3 separate regions of the Homo sapiens genome follow, and regions 1 and 3 are each linked to region 2. The links are contacts of gene promoters, found by promoter capture Hi-C in human tissues and cell types (Jung and others, 2019). All regions are on one chromosome and are shown on one strand. The core of a region is centred on a gene start or on the middle of the fragment in contact, and the rest is flanking DNA. Distances in the headings are between cores, read along the strand shown.

Region 1 (3,457 bases), core at 773-3,272, 72 kb before region 2:
GAGTGATTGCTAGCAAAGTGGCACAGAGGAGAGTGAGGTTGGAGAGGGTGTGGGTGGACTGTGACTCCAGGAGAATGCCACTCTCCTGGAGGTCTCCGACAATCAGGTGCACTCTGCCAGCAGGAGGTATGATGCAGACCCCAGGAGGCATCCTGTTAGATATCCAAAGCTGCACTGCAAGCAAGCATGGCCAAGCTTGGGCCCCAGGGGAGGCCGGCAGACAGAGGGGAACTCAGGTCAAACGGGCCTCATCTCACAGGCAAGATTGCTCTGCTCTGTTCAGGTCTTACAGTTCCCCTAAGACTACCATCTCCTAGCGGAGCATGGAGACCCTTGGAAGATGGGTGTCACTGACCTTGCTCCCCTGCAGATGTTCCCACACCAAACCCTTGGAGCTCCAAACGGGCTAGAATCCTGCCACTACCACTTCCCTAGGCAGCTCTTCCTGACAGTTCATGTCCTGGAGGACCGTGGGGTGTCCTGCTGCCAGGATTCCAGAGGTCTTACGGCATGAGTGGGTCACTTGTCACCTGCTCTACTGACCTTATCACCAGGAGTGCTTGGGGAGCCTGGAATAAATCCCAGTACACAGTAGCCTTGTGCAGAGTTCCCAGCTTCCAACCACTTCAGCCCAGCATCTGTGTCCTCCCTCCGTCCACTCTCAATGCCTTCCTTCCAAAGATGTGTTTGAAGTGCACCAGTCTTCTACTATCCTGGTCTCTTGGTGGCAGATGTGCCTCCTACTTTCATATGGTTGGCCATCATGTGTCCTGAAAAAAAAATTATTATTGAGTTTTAAGAGTATTTTGTGTATTTTTGATAACAGTCCTTTATCAGCTGCATCTTTGGCAAATATTTTCTCCCAGTCTGTGTCTTGTCTGCCCATTCTTTTGATGTCTTTCACACAGAAGCATTTTTAATTTTAATGAAGTCTGAATTATCAATCATTTTTTTCATGGATTGTGCCCTTGATGTTGTATCTAAAAAGTTATCACCAAACCCAAGAACACCTAGATTTTGTCCTGTGTTATCTCCTAGTAGTTTTATAGTTTTGTGTTTTGCACTTGGGTCTATGATTCATTTTGAGGTACTATTTTGAAGGGTGTGAGATCTGGGTTTAGATTCTTTTTTTGGGAGTGGGGAGGCATGTATCCAGTTGTTCCGACATCATTTGATGAAAAAAGTATTTTTTTCTCTATTGTATTGCCTTTTCTCTTTTGGCAAAGATCAGTTGACTATATTTTTGTGGATCTATTTCTGACTTGTCTATTATGTTCCACTGGTCTATTTGTATATTCTTTCACCAATACCATACTGTCTTTTTGTTTTGTTTCAACACTCTTTATCTTAAATAATGCTTAAATTGAATATGAAATATAGGTTCCTTTTTAGAGTAGTAACTTTCCTCTCATGTTCCTTTTTTTTTCAAATTTATGTTTTTAGTTGACAAAGTTTTATATATATACATATATTAACGTGTACAGTGTGCTATTTTGAGGTATATATATACATTGTGAAATGACTAAATCTGGCTAATCGATGCACTGTTTAGATTACTGTAGCTTTATATAGTAGGTCTTGAAGTTAGGTAATATCCATTGTCAAAAAAAAAAGAAATGAAAGTTGATAAGGAGTTCCTCAAAACTCAGAAATGACAAGAAAACAAACATATAGGTATAGTAAGTTATTGCTGAGAATTATCTATCTAGAGTAAGGAGGAATGTGCCTCCAGGTACCTGCCAAAAAGCACTTAAAAAGCTTTCTGAGTTGAAACAGTTTAAATTCACACTTCTAGAAATTCACATTAATGCGGATATATAGAACATAAATTAACTAAAAAAATAAGAAAACACTAAACATCTCAGGAAATAAGCCACAAGAATGATAGTAAATAGAAATACAAACTACAAAATTAGCCCATTTGAATACTTAAGATAGTGGATTCATCAGATACAGAATATGAAATAAGTATCTTTAGTTTAATCAAATGCATAAAAATTGATTTGATAATGTAATTAAGCAACGAGACCAGTAAAATTAGAAAACTAAAAAAATAGTGATTCTAAAAATGAAAACTATTATTGATATTACAAACTCAATGGATGGATTAAAGAAAATTAGAACTACGGACCAACAAAAGTGAACCCATTCTATTGTTACTATGCATTATCTATGCAGTTATATATTAAGTTCCAAAGGCAACACACTTTATTTGGGATTGTTATCTAATGTTATAAACTTGACATTTTCTTAGGACTCACATGACCTAAAATACTGGCAATTTTCTATAGAGACTTAAGAAATTTTTTCTGTCTTCTGGTGCTGTTACTCAAAAAGATATATTAGCAAGCATTCTTGACCCTTTTGAACACATAGAGCACTCAGCTATGAACTTAGACAACTTTAAACTCACCAGTTACCTTAATATTGGCAACATAGTGAAAAAGGGACCAGTCTAAGATTTAGAAAAAGGTTCCTAATTTGCCACTAAATAGCTCTTGCATCCTGGATGTCACTTAACTTTTCTCAATCTCATTTGAAAATATATCTATATTAGTTTGTTCTCATGCTGCTATGAAGAAATACCTAAGATTGGGTAATTTATAAAGGAAAGAGGTTTAATTCACTGACAGTTCTACAGGGCTGGGGAGGCCTCAGGAAACTTGCAATCATGGCAGAAGGAGAAGCAAACACATCCCTCTTCACATGGTGGCAGTGAGGAGAAGTGGTGAACAAAAGGGGGAAAAGCCCCTTATAAAACCATCAGATCTGGTGAGAACTCACTATCACAAGAACAGCATGGAGGTAACCACCCCCATGATTCAATTACCTCCCATCAGATTTCTACTACCATATGTGGGGATTATGGGAACTACAATTCAAGATATTTGTGTGGGGACACACCCAAACCATATCAATCTGTGTATCTTCTCTTTATTTTAAAAAAATGCATTTTTATTTGTAAGTTCATCTGAGTATAGCTACAGTAAATATCTAAAGTTGATTTTTCTACCCTCAGGCTAGTAGTTAAACACTGATTAGGAGCTCTAGTAAATATCTGTACCTAAGAAATTGATGCCTAAGATTTATTCTTAATATTTTGAGGTAGCTGCCACAGGAGAAAAGAGCATGAGATGCTATTTCTTGAGCAAAAAAAATATTATCTAGGGATTTTATATATCTGATTGTTTCTTCACAACATCCATGAAAAAAAATACAATTACCCTCATTTTTTTGGAGACTGAAACTAAAATTTTGAGCTTATGTAAGACTCATGAGAATTTGAACTTAGGTCTGACTCCAAAGCCCATGGTATTTCCACTTCATCAAGAAGCCATATTTTTCCATGAGACTCCTCTTAATGTCATATTTCTTAATATGGAAATGAATGACATTTTAAAATGTTCTTAATATACTAGCTATAATAAATAATGCAGAATTTCTTTTTTTCTTGTGG
Region 2 (3,226 bases), core at 371-2,870:
CTCTGGCTGAGGCCTGGTCAGGTCTCGAAGAAGGTCTCACCAAAGAGGCGTGGGTCAGCTAAGACCCCCGCAGAAGGTGGAAACTCTCAAACCCATCAGCATGCCCACCACAGCTGGGCTTGGCCTCACCATCCTCAGAGTCCGGGCTGCTCGGCCTGCCCGAGGCCTCACCATAATTGCCAGACTTGTCTGGGGAAACGCGACGGCCGCTGTGAGTGCCAGTGTTGACAAAGGCTGTGTCAGGACGTCTAAGCAGAGGCCTACCTGGACCAAAACCTGTCTGGCTTATTTTCACCAAATTTGCTAGCTTAGGGTGCCTGACGCAAATGCGATTTTGTGCCCAGGGCACCGAACGCATTTCCCCCAAGCGCCGCGGGCTCCTAGGAAGCCAAGAGTCGTGCCAAAAGTCACACAGAAGGGCTTTCAACCTAGCAGTGCTGTCCTGCCTGCCCTACCATCCCCTCTGGTGGAAATGGAGGCCTTGGACCTGTCCGCGCCCAGGACGCCGCGCCGCGAGTGCCCGCAGCTCCGCGCGCTCACCACTCACTCCCAGAGCGCTTTTCGGAGTAACTCCACAGCAACTCTTTAAAATTAAAAGTAATTTCTGTAAAAATATGCAGACATTCCTCTTCTTCATAAACCCCTATTTGTAACAATCCTCACTTTGGCATTAGAGTAAAAGCCTTTCAAAGGCACTGATCCTAACGGGTTTTCTTAAAATAATTTGGGTCTAATGATAAAATCGTGGACCAAAGGGAAGGGTGGCGAAGAGGGTGTAGGGAATTGGTTGGCATTAGTATAATGGCTTCATTGCCTCTTGCTCGGCTTCTCTCTCCCACCCATCGCCACCGCGTCCACACTCCGCCGCATTCCAGAGAAAAAGAAAAGGCCACGGCCTCGTAAAGCTCCCAGCTGGCCCGGACCCCGAGCTCCTCCCGGTTAGAAGCCGAAGCGGCCCCTCTACTACGGCGGCTGCGATTAACAGTTGCCAATGCATCTGGTTCCTTGGGCTTCGGATTAATGTGAATCTTCCACGTAAACGATTTACGGATGAAATAAAAGCCTTTTAGAGCAATATTTCCTTTCAAGTTCTTAAGACGCCTCTAAATCTTTCTGGTAGTGAGTGGCCGGCATGGGGGCGGGGTGGGGACGGGTGGCTCAGGAAGGCGCAGGCAGTAGGGAGTGGAGGTTTAACTGCTTTGCGATCTCACCAAGATCTTCCGAAATGCCAGTCCACTGTCACGGCGGCAATGAATCTGGGTGTCAGGGGCTCGTCTCTCCTGGCATTTGTCTGAAATGGAGCTGTCTGTCTGTCTATCCTAGGCCTGGACGCCCTCTGCCCGGGTAAGTGGGGAAAATGGGGGTGGGGTAGGGGCGGAGGGGGACCTGGGGTGGAGTTAGTCGCCCGCCTATTTTCATATTCATTAGAACTGGGAGGCTGCCCGAGGAGGCCAGCTGAGTTTCAAGATATAAAAGCAACTTCGGGTGCTCCTTTTCCAGCCGGGACGTATTAAAGGGACCGGAGCGGGGCAGTTCCCGACGCCGCAGCGCTCGCTTTCCCTTCCCTCCTCTCTGGCCCTCCCTCCTCCCACCCACTGGCTCCCTCCCCCAGCGCTCTCCAGTTTCTGTGCCCCAGGAGCTACGCGACAGTCTTCCAGGATTATGGAGTTTCTGAGCGAGAAGTTTGCCCTCAAGAGCCCTCCGAGTAAAAACAGTGACTTTTACATGGGCGCAGGAGGTCCTCTGGAGCACGTTATGGAGACGCTGGACAATGAGTCCTTTTACAGCAAAGCGTCTGCAGGCAAATGCGTGCAGGCCTTCGGACCCCTGCCCCGCGCCGAGCATCACGTGCGCTTGGAGAGGACCTCGCCCTGTCAGGACAGCAGCGGTGAGTCGCTAGCGCCCCAGCCGGAGCCGCCGCAGCCCTTCCGCAATCGAAAATGCAGGATCGGTCTGATCAGGCAGGGAGGGAGAAAGGAGAAAAGTGGGAGCGAGGGACCTGGAAGGTGGAGGAAGGTAGTGGAAGGTGCTCGCTTTATGAAGCGGTGTTACTGCTGCTGCAGCCTTTGGGGGCGGAGGGCGGAGGGAGGGAGAGATCCAGCACCGGGTTGCCTCTGAGCGATTCTCCTTTCGCTGTAGGGTCTGGTCGCCTACGGATCCCTGAGTCCTTCTGTAATATTGGTTCCTGGAGTAAACTGATAGGGCGCTAAATAGAGCGTAATTGAGTCAAGACAGAACGCTTCCTCTGCGAGCCCGCCTTGCAGTCCGGGCGGTAGGAACTGAAATCGATCACAGCTCGTTAGAGTACGTCACTGTCGTCACGAGTAGGGAAAAAAAAACCGGAAAACAAAAACAAAAAACAAAAAACCCTTTGAGCTCCTTTAGGTAAAGATAAATCTTTTTAATTTTCCAAGACGTGGCGATATATTTTCAAAGTTTGAGGATCCCTAGATTTCTAGCGTGTGTGAATTTGTAATTTCTGCTTTTTTTTGCGTTTGCAATACAACACGCGTTGAATGTTTGTTAAACACTAAAGCACACTAAATAGCTTCGGGCAAACCATCCCCGGCCTAATCACTCATTCCCAGATTCTACGTTTTGTATTTTTATGACTTCACATTAAAAGTCACCTAAGGAGTCTTTGGAATGCTTCTGGGTGAAATCTTCAACTTTGAATGCCCAAGTATCTCCAAGTCAAAATGTTATCAAAACAAACCATCTATCTTTTCTATCTTGTAACCTAATACTAACCTATTATTTCAGATCGCGACAGCTAAAGCACGTTTACAATTCCAAGAGAACTTCTCCTTATCATTGTATATATTCCACAGTTAAGCTATAAGGGGCGGGTTGCTTTAAAATAACAAACGAATTAAGTGTGAAATATTTACAACAAGCCCCCTGCCCCCTATTTTATAGAAATTCAAAATCTGACAAAACACTGGCCTGTAGAAGCTCATTTTCTAAATATTTTGAACACAAGTTTTTTTCTTTTATTAATCTCATATTTAACTAATTTTATTTAACGTTGCAAGTAACTTTTGACTAAGGGTAAATCAAAAATAAAGGTGCAAATGATAGAGAAAATAATCAGCTAAGTCGTTTCAGTCATTTATTTAGAAAGATTCGAGCGTATACTTTTTGTTATTCTTACACTGAGTTGTTGGTTTTCTGGCTGCGTTTCAGACCTGGTATCTGTATTTGTGGAATTCTTAGGTGCATGCCT
Region 3 (3,448 bases), core at 263-2,762, 89 kb after region 2:
CTGACCCCTGTTCTAATAGTCTAAATTATAGTTATGGCTTCCTTCTCATCCATGAGTGACACACTTTTATAGAAGGGACTTCCCTTTTTAGGAAATATGAGAGTCGCATTCCAGGGATAAAGTAACTCTAGAGTGATCCAGCCAAAGGCATTTTGTTTGAAACAATGTTATGATCATAATTCAACTGACCTTTTTAGGACAGTTGGGATAGGTCACATAAATAAAGACTGCTTTGTTGTGATACTACCAGTTTCAGCTTCACAAAACTCCTGATTTTTATAAGGTTTATCATCTGCTGCTCTGCATTTTGTATTTGTTAATTTCCAAAAAAAACTTGTACCTAGTAAACTATTCATCTCTCATATGAAGTGATTTATCAGTTGAGACTAGAAATGAATAACACCCTTTTATGACATATAAATAATAATCATAGTACAGGTTGAATATCCCTTATCTGAAATACTTGGGACCAGAAGTGTTTCAGATTTCAGATTTTTTTTTTCTTGGACTTTTGAATATTTGCAAAGAGATATCCTAGGGAATAGACCCAAGTATAAACATGAAATTTATTTATGATCCATATATACCTTATACAAATAGCCTGAAGGTAATTTAATACAATATTTTAAATATTTTAGTGCATGAAACAAAGTTTTTGTTAAGTACTTACATGTGGAATTTTCCACTTAGGGCATCATGACAGTGCTCAAAAGGGATTTCAGGCCAGGCGCTGTGGCTCACGCCTGTAATGCCAGCACTTTGGGAGGCCGAGGCGGGTGGATCACAAGGTCAGAAGTTTGATACCAGCCTGACCAATATGGTGAAACCCCGTCTCTGCTAAAAATATGAAAATTAGCTGGACATGGTGGTGGGCAACTGTAGTCTCAGCTACTTGGGAGGCTGAGGCTGGGAATCGCTTGAACCTGGGAGGCGGAGGTTACAGTGAGCTGAGATTGCGCCACTGCACTCCAGCCTAGGTGATACAGCAAGACTCCATCTCAAAAAAAAAAAAAAAAAAAGGATTTCAGATTTTCAAATTAGAGGTGATCAAGCTGTAATAATAACTACAATAAGAGATGCTAGATATTGAATATTTACTGTGCGAAATCCTGCTTTCTCTTCAAGACCCATTTTGTCTAGGAAGCCTTCTCTGACTCCATGGACTAAGTGTTGCATCCTTTTATTCCCCACCCCTTATAGCTCTCTGGTTTTCTTTGTATCACAGCACTTGTCACACTCCAAGAGTCTTACTATCATTTCCCTCCTCAACTGGTAATAAGTGCCTGGGGGGGTCAGGAATGATGATTTATTTATCCTTGCATCCCTAGGGAATAGCACAGTGCCTGGCTCCTAACAGGCTATCATGCTATAAATGCTTACAAAAGAAATGAATGAACGATACCTGGAGCCATAGTGGAGCTGGCTAGCCTCCTGAGGCCTATAGGAACTGAAAGGAAAAGCTGAGTCCTGGCATAATATCAAGGTTTGGATGAAAGGCCCATCACTCTGAATCATTCTAGCACAAATTATAGGCTTTAAAAATGGTTTGTGAATGTTAACGGTTTTGAGTTTACTGCACTGTAAGATATCTTAAATTTCGCTCCCTTCCCTGGGCCCCTACTCTTTCTGATTGTATGTTGGTTTGTTCACTCAAGTGAGGAAGAAAGGCAGTTTGAAAATAAACCACAAATACAGATTGTTTTCCTTGTCTGATTCCCCCTTTGTTTTTGTTTATCACAGAACCAGAACTAAGATGCCTTTAGAGATGTGTGCAGATAAGCTACCAGAAATGAAATTTCAGTTCAAGTTTGGCACTAAGTAAGCCACTCTCCCAAAAGTTTTTTACAATGTGCTGACTGTAATACTTTGACCATAAACCACTGGTAATAACAAGAAGTTAGGCCCTGGTTACAAACATATTACTGCATTGCCAAGCCCTTCAGTGGAATTCAACTACTACATATTTTTAGGTTAAAGAGAACTATATCTTCTGTGTTTCAGCCAAATTTGACTTTGGTTTCAAATTACCTCTGAGGAGAATTTTTAGCTGATAATTTATCGTATATGATTTGTCTCACATAGAGATATATTTATAGCACATTTGGTAAATAAATATCTTTTCTATTAAAAAGGCCAAAGCACATCCAGTGATAACTTCTTAACTTAAGCACATCCAGTGATACTTCTTAACTAAAGGTTGCCTGTGGAAAATATTGGTTCTTCTGGGGACTAAAAAGGGAAGTAGATAGAAATTCTGATATCTTAGGTCATTGGAAATAGGGAAGTGGGAGTGAGTAAATGTAGGGATTTCAGAAAAAAGAAAAAAAAAGACTATATATGTATATCTCTCTCTCTCTCTCTCACAGTACCTGGCTCCTAACAGGCTCTCATGCTATATATATATATATATATTTACATATATATATATATTTACATATATATACACACACACACACACATACACACACGTTTTACATATATACATATATATTATGTATATGCATATATATTATGTATATGTGTATATATATTACATATATACATGTATATATATTTGACATATATACATGTATATATTTGACATATATATATATACATGTATATATATTTGACATATATATATATGTAAAAAAAAAAAAAAAGGGACTCTGAGGTCTCCAGAGAAATATCTGGAAAAGTCTGAGGCTTCATTCTAGGGAGTATTCCTGCTAGGTCGGCACGAAAGCCTCTAATTCTGACTGGGCTTACTTGGTTATATTTACAGATATCACACATATGTGTCTTCAACACTTGTCATTTTTCATTTCCCCTTGGTTGATCTTTCCTCATTCCTTTTCTCTTGAAAGATAAAGTAGTGAAAACATTTGGATGAAAAGGGAAATCCCAGAATTTTTCTTCTAAACTCAATTGGATAAGATAACGTAAAGTAAATCTACATTTCTCTACTAACTTGCAATCTACAGCGCTGGTTAATAGAGCATACAGGGACTATCAATACCTTAAGAAACACTAAAATAAGAAACAAAAAAATGTTTAGGAAAGCAGTTTGTGCAAGGAGAGACTTCTCTAATTATTTACTTATTCCACAAATATTTACTGATTGCTGGCTATATGAATGAACATAGGTGAAAAGTAATTTTAAGAAGTTATTGTAATTCATATTTCCTTTGCTAGAGCAGCTTAATCTGTAGTAAAAATTTTCAATTTGACATTTTAAAATTATGGGTTCTCTGAGAAATTTTAACTCTCAAATTCCAACATAGGTCTTATTTGTGATAAACCTGAGCACTGACCTTTGTAAGTTTTACTTACTTGGTTATTATTGTAATTGATCTTAAGGCAGTTTTTCATATTCTTTGAGCTCTCTTCCAAATCATTCCTGACACATAATTCTACCAACTGCTAAACCTAATCTTCCATAATAATTTGTGTTTACATGTTCTAATCT

What was found. The method cuts DNA at HindIII sites, captures the fragments that hold promoters and counts their contacts. A contact is called where the count stands out against the background at its distance.
Region 1: a fragment that was not itself captured here is called in contact with the fragment with the promoter of ALX1 in region 2 in 2 of the 25 tissues and cell types used here (mesendoderm cells and pancreas).
Region 3: a contact is called between a fragment that was not itself captured here and the fragment with the promoter of ALX1 in region 2, in 3 of the 25 tissues and cell types used here (H1 embryonic stem cells, mesendoderm cells and thymus).

Annotation. Positions count from the first base shown.
Region 1 is chr12:85,206,601-85,210,057 of GRCh38, forward strand. The region is part of intron 24 of LRRIQ1 (leucine rich repeats and IQ motif containing 1); the gene reads left to right. Among named protein-coding and RNA genes, the nearest start is that of ALX1, 72 kb to the right of the region's middle. The HindIII fragment of the contact is 5,090 bases long and covers 1-3,457 here.
Region 2 is chr12:85,278,600-85,281,825 of GRCh38, forward strand. ALX1 (ALX homeobox 1) reads left to right here and starts at 1,621. Exons shown (of 4, transcript NM_006982.3): 1 at 1,621-1,888. The coding sequence starts at 1,663. RefSeq lists a silencer at 1,712-2,006. The HindIII fragment of the contact is 12,363 bases long and covers 1-3,226 here.
Region 3 is chr12:85,368,027-85,371,474 of GRCh38, forward strand. All of the region lies in intron 2 of LINC02820 (long intergenic non-protein coding RNA 2820), which reads left to right. Among named protein-coding and RNA genes, the nearest start is that of LINC02820, 52 kb to the left of the region's middle. The HindIII fragment of the contact is 4,866 bases long and covers 1-3,448 here.